Linked DNA regions of Homo sapiens: region 2 is linked to region 1. The links are contacts of gene promoters, found by promoter capture Hi-C in blood cells and fetal thymus (Javierre and others, 2016). All regions are on one chromosome and are shown on one strand. The core of a region is centred on a gene start or on the middle of the fragment in contact, and the rest is flanking DNA. Distances in the headings are between cores, read along the strand shown. Region 1 holds the start of MRPL43 (mitochondrial ribosomal protein L43). Region 2 overlaps HIF1AN (hypoxia inducible factor 1 subunit alpha inhibitor).

Region 1 (5,379 bases), core at 2,642-5,141:
ACCTGGGGCACAGCTGGCACCTGATGTGAGACTGCTCTATGTGCTAGCCATTGCCGCGCTTGGTGGCCTCTGCCTCATCCTGGCCTCCTCCCTCCTCTATGTGGCCTGTCTGCGGGAAGGCAGACGAGGGCGCCGACGGAAATACTCACTGGGTCGGGCCAGCCGGGCAGGAGGATCTGCGGTGCAACTGCAGACAGTCTCAGGCCAGTGTCCTGGAGAGGAAGATGAGGGTGATGATGAGGGGGCTGGGGGCCTGGAGGGCAGCTGTCTCCAGATCATCCCTGGGGAGGGAGCCCCAGCCCCACCACCCCCACCGCCCCCACCGCCACCGGCTGAGCTGACCAATGGCTTGGTGGCACTGCCCAGCCGGCTGCGGAGGATGAATGGCAATAGCTATGTGCTTCTGAGGCAGAGCAACAATGGAGTACCAGCAGGGCCCTGCTCCTTCGCCGAGGAACTCAGCCGCATCCTGGAAAAAAGGAAGCACACGCAGCTCGTGGAGCAGCTAGATGAGAGCTCTGTCTGAGCCCAGCCTCCCAGAACAAATGCTCTTCCAAGCCAGCCTATCTGTCCCAGGCTGGGCCACTGCCTCCCTAACACAGCCACCCTCCCTTCATTACCCCCACTCCATACCCTTCTCCCAACTTTTTGATGTCCCTGTAGGGCTGGCCAGTCAGGCCCAGCCAAAGCCCCCTCCTCAGTCTCCACAGACCCACATGTGAGCAGCCCAGGCCCATCGGTGCTCCTCAGAGGTAGGTGCTCCCTCAGGATCAGGTGCCCTGCAGACCCAGAGCCAGTTCCTATCCCCTAACCTAAACACTTATAGGTGAGGACTCCATCCTCCTGTTCCATTCATCTGCCCAAACCCTTTCTCTTTCTCCCAGGCAGGGCTCTGCAGGTCCATATGGGCTCAATGTCACCACCCTCTGCATGGCCCTGTGTGCTGGATGGTCCTGAAACCAGACAAGACCTCTGCCAGCCACCTAAGCCCTGCGTACATTCACATGCACACATGGAAGAATGTTTATCGGCTGGGCTGCAGTGCCCCCACCCTCACCTTCTCCTGGTGCATTCTTGTTTCATCCCTGCTTCTGGACTTGGGGTACCCTCCCAATTGCCACATCCTATCTGGTCCTCTTCCCCAGCCCCATGTGGTGACCTCTTTGTCAAGAGCTTGGGAACGGGCCAGCCTGGGGAGGTAAGACTGCATCACTCCCCTCCTCTCCCTTCCTGTGTGGCCCTTGTGAATCAGCCTCCCCACTCTCCTTGGTCATTCTCAAGAGTATGAGAGACAGAGCTCCAGGCATGTCCCATCCCCATGCACATGTGGTAACACACACCTGTATCACACATGTGCTTACATTTCCACTCACATGCACCTCTGAGCCTCCCTTGCTGTCTTGGACCTGTCTGTTGGGTTTAGTCCGTGGACATTTCAGAGGGAGATCCCCCTCCCATTTAACTGTCCTCACAGGCCCTTGCCTAGGATGGATGACCAACACTGCACTCAATGAGCCAGCCTCTCTTTTGGGGGAATCAAGCATTTGCTTCCTCTAGACTACAGCAGGGAAAGGGAGGAGAAATCTGATGTCTCAACTGGCACATGAAGCCCATTCTTGGAACTATGCAAAGGGCAGAGGCTGGGAGTTTGGACGCTTAGCTCCTACCCCTGTCCTACCTCACCGGGGCACTTTCAGGGGCCAGGGGCCTCTGAAGTCTCTAGGCCTATATGGGACAATCAATTCTGACTGAGCTCCCCCATTCCCCTCGGGTGAGGATGACTGTTATTTTTGTAGCTGAGAACGTGGAATCCCACGGGTTTTTACTGCCCTTCACCCAACCTCTCCCACCTCCACCCCACAATGAATGTATTTATTGTGAGAATGGCTACACTTCTTTAGGAATGCCCCCACTTACAACCAGGTGGGTGGAACAGGCATGTGACAGAGTGGGGAGCCTGGGCTCAGCTCCTCCCCCTGCCGTTGGTTAATAAACACCCTTTTTCCCCACAGCTATGACTAGTCTGCTTCATCTAGATGCGCCCACCCCTGATCACCAGGGGACAGGCTCCTGAGCCTATACAGAAGGTGATATCTGCCTCCAGGATTGGCTCTGCTCCCCAATACAACTATTTGCAGAGGAAATTGGGATCCTCCGCTTCCATCCTGACTCCTTGGCAGGCACACAGGCCTCTTTAGTAAGGTTCACACTATTCATTGATCATGGTGTTAGGGCATGACAAGAAAATGACAACAGTTCAAGAATTCTTACAGGGGTTTCTAGATTTTCATTTCCTGCCTCTCATTTCCCCACCATCCCCCCTTTTTAAACTAAGATTAGAAAATACTCATTAATATCAGCCTTCCTGCCCTTCCCCAAGGTTCTCAGCACCCCCCACCAGCTGGCTCAAGGGACATGGATTTTATTTCTGCACAAAGAGGGACGTGGGGGGAAGGAGATGTATAGCTAAGACCAGAGAAAGCTTGTCAGCCAGGACTTGGTCTGAGAATCACTCCCCTCTCCCTTTCAGGGGTCAGGCCTAGATTAATCACTTGGCCTTTGATACTAACCACCTGACAGTTGTTATATGTTCTGCGTCTAGTTTTAAAATAATGAAAACTGAGGCTTGTGCTTAACATATGCACACATTTTGAAGACAGACCTGAAATGTGACCTTGGATAAGTTTATTAACCTGTTTTATAAATCTGTATTCACACAGATATAAAGTGCCTAGCCCATCACAGCAGAGCTCTCCGTAGCTCAGTGGTTGTTCCAATAAGACATCAGGGATTCTTCAGAAGCCAGCCTTCAGACCTCTCACTGTGTTTTGAGATCATTATTATCAATTTGGATTTAAAAAACAAGGGCCCTGTAAAACCCTTGAAGTCTTCCTCATCTCAGGTTTTAGGGATGCCACTTGCATAAAAATGAGTGGTTCACAAGGTCACTGCCCCCAGAAGCAGGCACTGGAAAGAAACAGGCAGCTCTTCATTATCCCAAGCAGAACCTCTGTCAACTTGCCCATTGATGGGTTCCATTTGCCTGGGCTTGGAATCCCAAAGGGGAAGAACCACCTTTACCGGAGTAACAGTCCAAAGCCTGGGGCTGCAGTTGGTGGGGCAACTCTTCACTGTGCTTGCACCTGGGCTGGGGCAGGATCCTGAACCTCTCGGGGGCGTAGCCCGCGGAACGTGGTCGGCTTGTTGGTGAAGGGGTGCCACTGGCCCTGGATGCTAGGGTTGTCGGTGTGGAAGGGCTTGCGGATGCGGATCACGTCCAAGCCCGACTGGTCGGCCAGCTTCTGCACCAGCGTCGAGATCTCCTCGACCGACTTGCAGTGGATGCTCTCCTCGCGCACAGCCCCGTTAACTGGCAGAAGAGGGGTGAGAGTGGGTGGAAGCTGGCCGGTGCGACCAAGCGAGAAGGAGGATAGCGGGTCGAGCCCCTGATCCCGCCCTCCAGCCCGAGCCCGGCCCCACTCACGGTATTCGGCCACTACTCTGGGCACGCAGCACGGACGCGAGTTTACATATATTACGACCCCTGGATTCCGTCGGGCGAAGTCGATCACCTCCCGCTCCACGAACTCCCTAAGCGACCCGGGACAGTGAGCAGTATGACCCCTGACTGGGGGCGACCTACCCGGGGAGTCGTTGCCACCTCCACACCCACCCCGACCCGCGCCTGCGCACTTCCCTTGGCTCACCTGGCGCCGCGAGACGAGGCGCCGTCGCGGCTGACGCTGAAGCTCAGACGCTGCAGCTGCTGCACATAGCGACCCAGTCCGTTGTGGAGAACGCTGGCCAAGAAGCGGCTCGGAGTCCCGCGCGCCGTCATAGCTACAGCTTGGAGGCCGCGGAGCCTAAGCAGCGAGGAGAGGGGGGCGGGACTAAACCTCGAGGCTTCCGGTTCCGGGACGACCGCTCCCGGAGTTTTGCTTCCGAGGTCAAGGCGAGTAGCATGTGCGGGAGACTCACGTTGCCGGCGAAGTGGGAGAGAGAAAAGTGGTAACCTGGGGCTGGGGGCCGGCGCGGCGGAGCTCGGAGTAGTAGAGCGGAGTGAAGACACGGGGGAGGATAGAGACTGGCATTCCTTTGGGCCGGGGGATTGGCGGGAGTCGTGCTGGGTGCTCTCGCCGTGTTGAGGTCCCAGTGAGGGGAAGGAGAAGCGGAAGAGGGTCTCTAGTCGGGGCCTAGGGCAAAGGGACTACAAAAAGGATGCAGATGACTATAGAAATGAGGACGACGAGGAGATGCTGTGGAGGAGCAGTAGAGGTGAGAAGATGATGCAAAGAAACTGTGTCAGTGAGGAACTGTATAGAGGGTCATAGAGGTGAGGTGGCGGAGAGAAACTAACTAACGGACCATAGAGGTGGGGGAGCCATTGTAGAAGGACGTGGACGCGAAAGGGTCGTGTAGATGGGCATATGTGTGAAGCAGCAACGTAGAGGGGCTGAAGAGGAGAAATTCATGGAGAGAAAGAATGCACCTAGAGTGAGCTCTGCAGAGTGCTGCGTGGGATATCCCTAGAGTTTGGTCTAGTGAAGGCACGCTAACCAGGCACCTAAGGCATTTCAAGTAGTGACTTCCCACATTTGGCTAGGAATGTGGGTCCTCCTCCGAAGTGGGTACCCCCTCCGTATCTTGTTACCCCTGCGTGGGGAGTGGATGGGTCGGAGGGGCCTGCCCCGAAACTTGGCCCCAGGCCCTCCTCGCAGACGTTACAGGAAGGAGACTCTCCAAGCCTTGGATATGCCAGTGTTGCCTGTAACTGCAACTGAAATCCGCCAGTATTTGCGGGGGCATGGGATCCCCTTCCAGGATGGTCACAGTTGCCTGCGGGCACTGAGCCCCTTTGCAGAGTCTTCACAGCTCAAAGGCCAGACTGGTGTTACCACTTCCTTCAGCCTCTTCATTGACAAGACCACAGGCCACTTTCTCTGCATGACCAGCCTAGCAGAAGGGAGCTGGGAAGACTTCCAGGCCAGCGTGGAGGGGCGAGGGGATGGGGCCAGGGAGGGGTTTCTGCTTAGCAAGGCACCAGAATTTGAGGACAGCGAGGAGGTCCGGAGGATCTGGAACCGAGCAATACCTCTCTGGGAGCTGCCTGATCAGGAGGAGGTTCAGCTGGCTGATACAATGTTTGGCCTTACCAAGGTTACAGATGACACACTCAAGCGTTTCAGTGTGCGATATCTGCGACCTGCTCGCAGTCTTGTCTTCCCTTGGTTCTCCCCTGGGGGCTCAGGATTACGAGGCCTGAAGCTCCTAGAGGCTAAATGCCAGGGGGATGGAGTGAGCTACGAGGAAACCACTATTCCCCGACCCAGCGCCTACCACAATCTGTTTGGATTACCACTGATTAGTCGTCGAGATGCT
Region 2 (5,379 bases), core at 1,791-4,290, 440 kb before region 1:
TGAGAGAGCAAGTCTGCTTTGAGGATGCATGTGGACTCTCATCACTTAAGAAAGCATCTGTCTTGGCATACCCAGACAGAGCTGGGGAAGATTGTCTAAATTCCATGCCCTGCAAAAGTGTGTGTTCAACTCATGGACTGTGCAAAGGCCAAACAACACACGTGGTCCTAGTTAGAAAGGAGTAGATGGAACATACACTAGGGCACAACTAATTCAAGGTGGCATTTAAAATAATGTGCCATATTTAAATTACACAGCACTCTCTTCAGTCATCTGATATTCTTTCCTCCAATGAAAATCACTTGCACCAGTGAGCCCCAATGTTGCTTTAAGAAGTGTTGTCTTGGCTAGATGTGGTGGCTCACGCCTGTAATGCTAACACTTTGGGAGGCTGAGGTGGACAGGTCACTTGAGCCCAGAAGTTGGAGACCAGCCTGGGCAACGTGGTGAAACCCCATCTCTTAAAAAAACAAGTATTGCATTCGTTAGGTGTATTGAAGTGGGAGGAAAGGTTGAGAATCTTTGAGTTCCACAGAGCTACCCAAAATAAATACAGAGCTACATAATCATACAACTTAGAATGACTGGTTAACTCCTCATGTATATGTTGTTGATACCAGTCATTTCTGTTTTGCTTTCCTTGAATTCCTGCCGTAGTCAAGAAGAGTACACGGTGTACACAGTTGATTACCCTACCTGATTTTTGAGGATCATTTTGATGTGCTCTTGCTTCCAGTAAGGGCAGCAGCCTTCATTTAGGGAAGTTGACTTAGCTGATAGTGGACCCTTAACCAGTGATGTTTGCTAGAGTTATTACCATACAAGCTTAACACCTAATTTTCTGAGAGTTGTAATTGGAATTTCCCTGATTCTGCCTAAATTTTGATTTGGAACTTTTAGCTGGGAGGGCAGGCTGGGTTTCTCTTTAGCACTGGGTCCTGTATTCCAGCTTATGCAATAGAACCACTGCTCTGCATAAGAAAATGCCTTTCTTCTTACAGGAAATGTGACACCTGCTCACTATGATGAGCAGCAGAACTTTTTTGCTCAGATAAAAGGTTACAAACGATGCATCTTATTCCCTCCGGATCAGTTCGAGTGCCTCTACCCATACCCTGTTCATCACCCATGTGACAGACAGAGCCAGGTGAGCTTGTGTGGTCTGAGAAGGGTATAGAACTCTAGATTCTAGTAATGCCTAGGCTGGAATGTCTTTCCCCTTCCCCGTAGTGATATGCCAGGTTCGGATTACAGGCTGTTCTTGCCTTAACACACCAAGAGGGTAATTTCATTGTAGCTCACATATTCCAGGCTCCCTGGAGTGGCCACCAGATGTTTGTAAGTATAACTAGCCCCACAGAGCTAATTCTCAGGACAGACACTGTCATTGATGCTGATGGACTCTGGTTACTCTGTTTGATTGGCTTATAAGTTTATGGAACAAAATGTGTATGTCTCCATTGGATTTAATCATTGTTTGCTTTTGTCATGGATGCTATTTCTTTTTGATAAGAAGGGTGAATAAAACTGAGCTATGTTGTTTAATGTATTTCCTAGATCTAAATGAGGTATGTGGTTAACTGTGGCCAGCCAAAGATATCCTTTCCTTTCTTCAGAAAGCTGTCTAGCTACTTCATGTGGGAGTCTTTGCTGGTTAGAATATGTTTTTGGGAAAAGTTTCTGAAGGTTTAGGTGGAGGATAATTCCTAATTCCTCATATCCTCAGCTGTGGAGTAGGTCGTCTGACCTCAGGAGCACTGAAGCCTAGGATTCTTTATCACTTAACATTCAAATGTGGACTGTCTTATATTGTTCTCTCTCAGGGTTTAATGTGCATTATATCTTCTGCTGGATATAAATTCCAAATACTTTTTTTAAGGCATCGTTTTTTTTTTGTTTGTTTGTTTGTTTTTACTGCCAAACTGGCATATAGTAGTTTTACTGGTGAAGATTTGGTGATTGATATTTTTTTTCTTTCTCTTGAACCTCTTAGGTGGACTTTGACAATCCCGACTACGAGAGGTTCCCTAATTTCCAAAATGTGGTTGGTTACGAAACAGTGGTTGGCCCTGGTGATGTTCTTTACATCCCAATGTACTGGTGAGAAGGGGGCTAGGGCTGGGGGCTTTTTGGGAGCTTTCTTTTCCATTCCCTGGAAAGCCTTGTCTGTGTCGCTTCTGAGTTATGGCATGATTGGTTTTATGTGGTCTATAGGAAGGTTGGCATATCCAGACATGAGCGTACTGAACCTGTGGGGGATAGTGGCGGGAATGATAGCCCTGTCTCTAGGACAGGATGACGGTTCTTCAAGTCCAAAGAGATTCCGGAGGCTTGAGCCTAGAAAAACTGTTCTTGGCTCTTTGGTATTTCGAGACTGAACACCAGTACCTCTAACCCCCAAGTGTGTGTTTTTTTCACAGGATGAGTGTAAAGATATTGTCTTCACTATTTTCCGTAACTGGACTCCACCTAGTTTTTCAGCCCAACCCTGCCACCCCCCCGCACTTCGCCCCTCCGCCCCCGCCAAAAGTATCAGTAGTAAACAGGAGCCTGTTTGTTTTCTTGCAGGTGGCATCACATAGAGTCATTACTAAATGGGGGGATTACCATCACTGTGAACTTCTGGTATAAGGTGAATATGGTTTGCTTTTTTTGTTTTTTCCAGATGGAACTGGCTCTTGGGTGAGGTAGGTATAATAAATGATTTTGGATGGGATGGTTGACTATCCCTGGAAGTGATTGTCAGGTGTCTGGGGAGATGAAAGGGACAGGATTGAATTGGGTTTCTTTTTTTTAAATATATTTTTTGAGACAGAGTCTTGCTCTATTCCCCAGGCTGGAGTGCAGTGGCGTGATCTCGGCTCACTGCAACTTCTGCCTCCCGGGTTCAAGTGATTCTCCTGCCTCAGCCTCCCGAGTAGTTGGGATTATAGGCACACACCACCATGCCTGGCTAATTTTTGTATCTTTAGTAGAGATGGGGTTTCACCATGTTGGCCAGGCTGGTCTCAAACTCCTGACCTCAAGTGATCCACCCGCCTCGGCCTCCCAAAGTGCTGGGATTATAGGCCTGAGTCACCGTGCCCGGCAAGAATTGGGTTTCTTAGAAGGGAGGATGGTACTAAGAACAGTAGAGTGACACTGACGCCTGCTGCTAAAGGCATTTCCTGAGCTACTGCTTCCTTTGTAGGGGGCTCCCACCCCTAAGAGAATTGAATATCCTCTCAAAGCTCATCAGAAAGTGGCCATAATGAGAAACATTGAGAAGATGCTTGGAGAGGCCTTGGGGAACCCACAAGAGGTAGGTGACTGCCCCAAGGTGGCTCAGTGGGTGGGTTGACCAAGGAAAGTCAGGATCAGAGCGACATTCTTTACAGCTTCTGTGTTTCAGTGTCTGGTGTCCTCTCTCTCCATAGAGGTTATGGGTATGTTCAGAAAAATTCTTGTTTTCTGGTGATAGCTGGGCTTGACTGGCAGATCAATTATAATTAGTTCCATGCTAGTAGTAATGTTCCCCATGGGTATTATGTACCATCTGGGGACCCCCTGAGGGGATTCTTCTGGAACAGGAAGCGAGCACTAACACATCTCCTTGCACTTTCCCAGCTGTGCCAGGGCTGCTGTAGGTAATGTTGAGAGACCTGCTTCCCATGCAGGTGTGCCAGTGGCCCATTGGGTAAATGGGGGAGGTTTGTATTTGTAGGGTTCTTGCTTGCCTCTTGGAGGTAACCTCAGCATCCACAGACACCTGTGGTGTTGGGAGATAGCATCAGCCCCAGTTGCAGATGATCATTTTTTGAGGATATGGAGGCAGTTAACATTCTGGAGAAACATATAGACACTCTTGGGTGTTCGGGGATTATTAGCTTCTCTGACCATGTCTGTCCGTTTGGGGCAGATTACGGTAAGAGACGGTGTTGTGCGAGAGAAGAATAATAGTACAAGATGGACCCCTGAGGGAAAGACTATGTCCCAGAATACTGGGTTGACCTTCAGGAAGATAGGTGATTAGAGGATTCACAAGATTGTATGAAAACATTGTCTCTGTCCTTGGCTGGACATCTGATGTCTCCAGACACACCCTGTCCAATTCCAGGGCCAGGGAACAGCCAGTTCTGATTGGCTCCTCATGTTTCTTTACAGGTGGGGCCCTTGTTGAACACAATGATCAAGGGCCGATACAACTAGCCTGCCAGGGGTCAAGGCCTCCTGCCAGGTGACTGCTATCCCGTCCACACCGCTTCATTGATGAGGACAGGAGACTCCAAGCGCTAGTATTGCACGCTGCACTTAATGGACTGGACTCTTGCCATGGCCCAGGAGTCAGGTGTTTGGAGCGAGGCAGGGCAGTTGGCACTCCACTCCTATTTGGAGGGACTTCATACCCTTGCCTCTTGTGCCCCAGCACCTTCTCTCTCTGCCCCCCGCCTAAAGTCCTGCATTCAGTGTGTGGAGTCCCAGCTTTTGGTTGTCATCATGTCTGTGTGTATGTTAGTCTGTCAACTTCGGAATGTGTGCGTGTGTGTGCATGCACACGCATGTATGTATCTGTTCCCTGTTCCTTCTGGGTCAGGCTGTCACTTCCGGCTCTCAGCCCTATCTCCTGCAACCTCAGTGCCTCAGCCTGAGAGAGAGATGAGATGCTCTTGGACTCCCCACTGCATCTGGGCTGCAGGGCCAGAGCTAGTCTGACCATTAGGTCAGTCTGCCTCCTGACAGTTTTTGCGTAGTCAAGCTCTAGGCGGTATGGGAATGGCTACCGGGACTCTAATGGGGTGAAAGAGAGGGGAGGCTTGCCTTTGAGAGCCTATATAGCCTTCCTGTGAGAGAGGATTAGATAGGGTTCCAACTGGGCCTACAAGCTCAAGCCATACATAAAAGGACCTTGGGACATAAGAACCAATGATTGTGCATAAGTTCTAAATTAGAGACACATATAGTTTCTCTCTTTCAGCACCAGCTCTTGCCCCTATGCTGGGTACCAAGGGAGTTCTCCTAGCTGTGGCTTCTCTAGGTTCTAGGGGTGCAAGCCTCTGTGTGTTTGTTTGTGTGTGTCTGTGTGTGCGTATCCACACTAGGGGTGCAAGCCTCTGGGTGTGTGTGTGTGTGTGCGTGCGTGTGTGTGTGTGTGTCCGTGTGTGTGTGTGTGTGTGTCCACACTGGCCAGCCTCCCTACTTACCAAGGTTCTCCACTGCTTACCTTTTCCAGTGGGACAGTACAGTGTGAGCCCCCGGGAAGTACTGCCTGACCTATCCTAAGCTTTTACACTTGGATTTTAGCCATCATATGTTGGCCAGGTCTCACTGCAGCCTGCCCGAGGCTAACTGGCTAGAGCCTCCAGGCCCTATGATGCTCCCTGCCCAGGCCATATCCTTTAT

What was found. The method cuts DNA at HindIII sites, captures the fragments that hold promoters and counts their contacts. A CHiCAGO score of 5 or more calls a contact.
Region 2: a contact is called between a fragment that was not itself captured here and the fragment with the promoter of MRPL43 in region 1, in 2 of 17 cell types (M0 macrophages and naive CD4 T cells). The highest score is 5.5, in M0 macrophages.

Annotation. Positions count from the first base shown.
Region 1 is chr10:100,983,606-100,988,984 of GRCh38, forward strand. It overlaps MRPL43 (mitochondrial ribosomal protein L43), which reads right to left and starts at 3,892. Exons shown (of 3, transcript NM_032112.3): 1 at 3,708-3,892; 2 at 3,485-3,591; 3 at 2,664-3,370. The coding sequence starts at 3,838. The coding sequence ends at 3,129. TWNK (twinkle mtDNA helicase) reads left to right here and starts at 3,938. Exons shown (of 5, transcript NM_021830.5): 1 at 3,938-5,379. The coding sequence starts at 4,606. It overlaps SEMA4G (semaphorin 4G), which reads left to right. Exons shown (of 15, transcript NM_017893.4): 15 at 1-2,011. The coding sequence ends at 526. RefSeq lists an enhancer at 3,651-3,720. The HindIII fragment of the contact is 4,949 bases long and covers 2,481-5,379 here.
Region 2 is chr10:100,543,950-100,549,328 of GRCh38, forward strand. HIF1AN (hypoxia inducible factor 1 subunit alpha inhibitor) reads left to right here. Exons shown (of 8, transcript NM_017902.3): 4 at 1,002-1,147; 5 at 1,994-2,100; 6 at 2,569-2,632; 7 at 3,191-3,301; 8 at 4,144-5,379. The coding sequence ends at 4,188. Among named protein-coding and RNA genes, the nearest start is that of HIF1AN, 11 kb to the left of the region's middle. The HindIII fragment of the contact is 4,435 bases long and covers 824-5,258 here.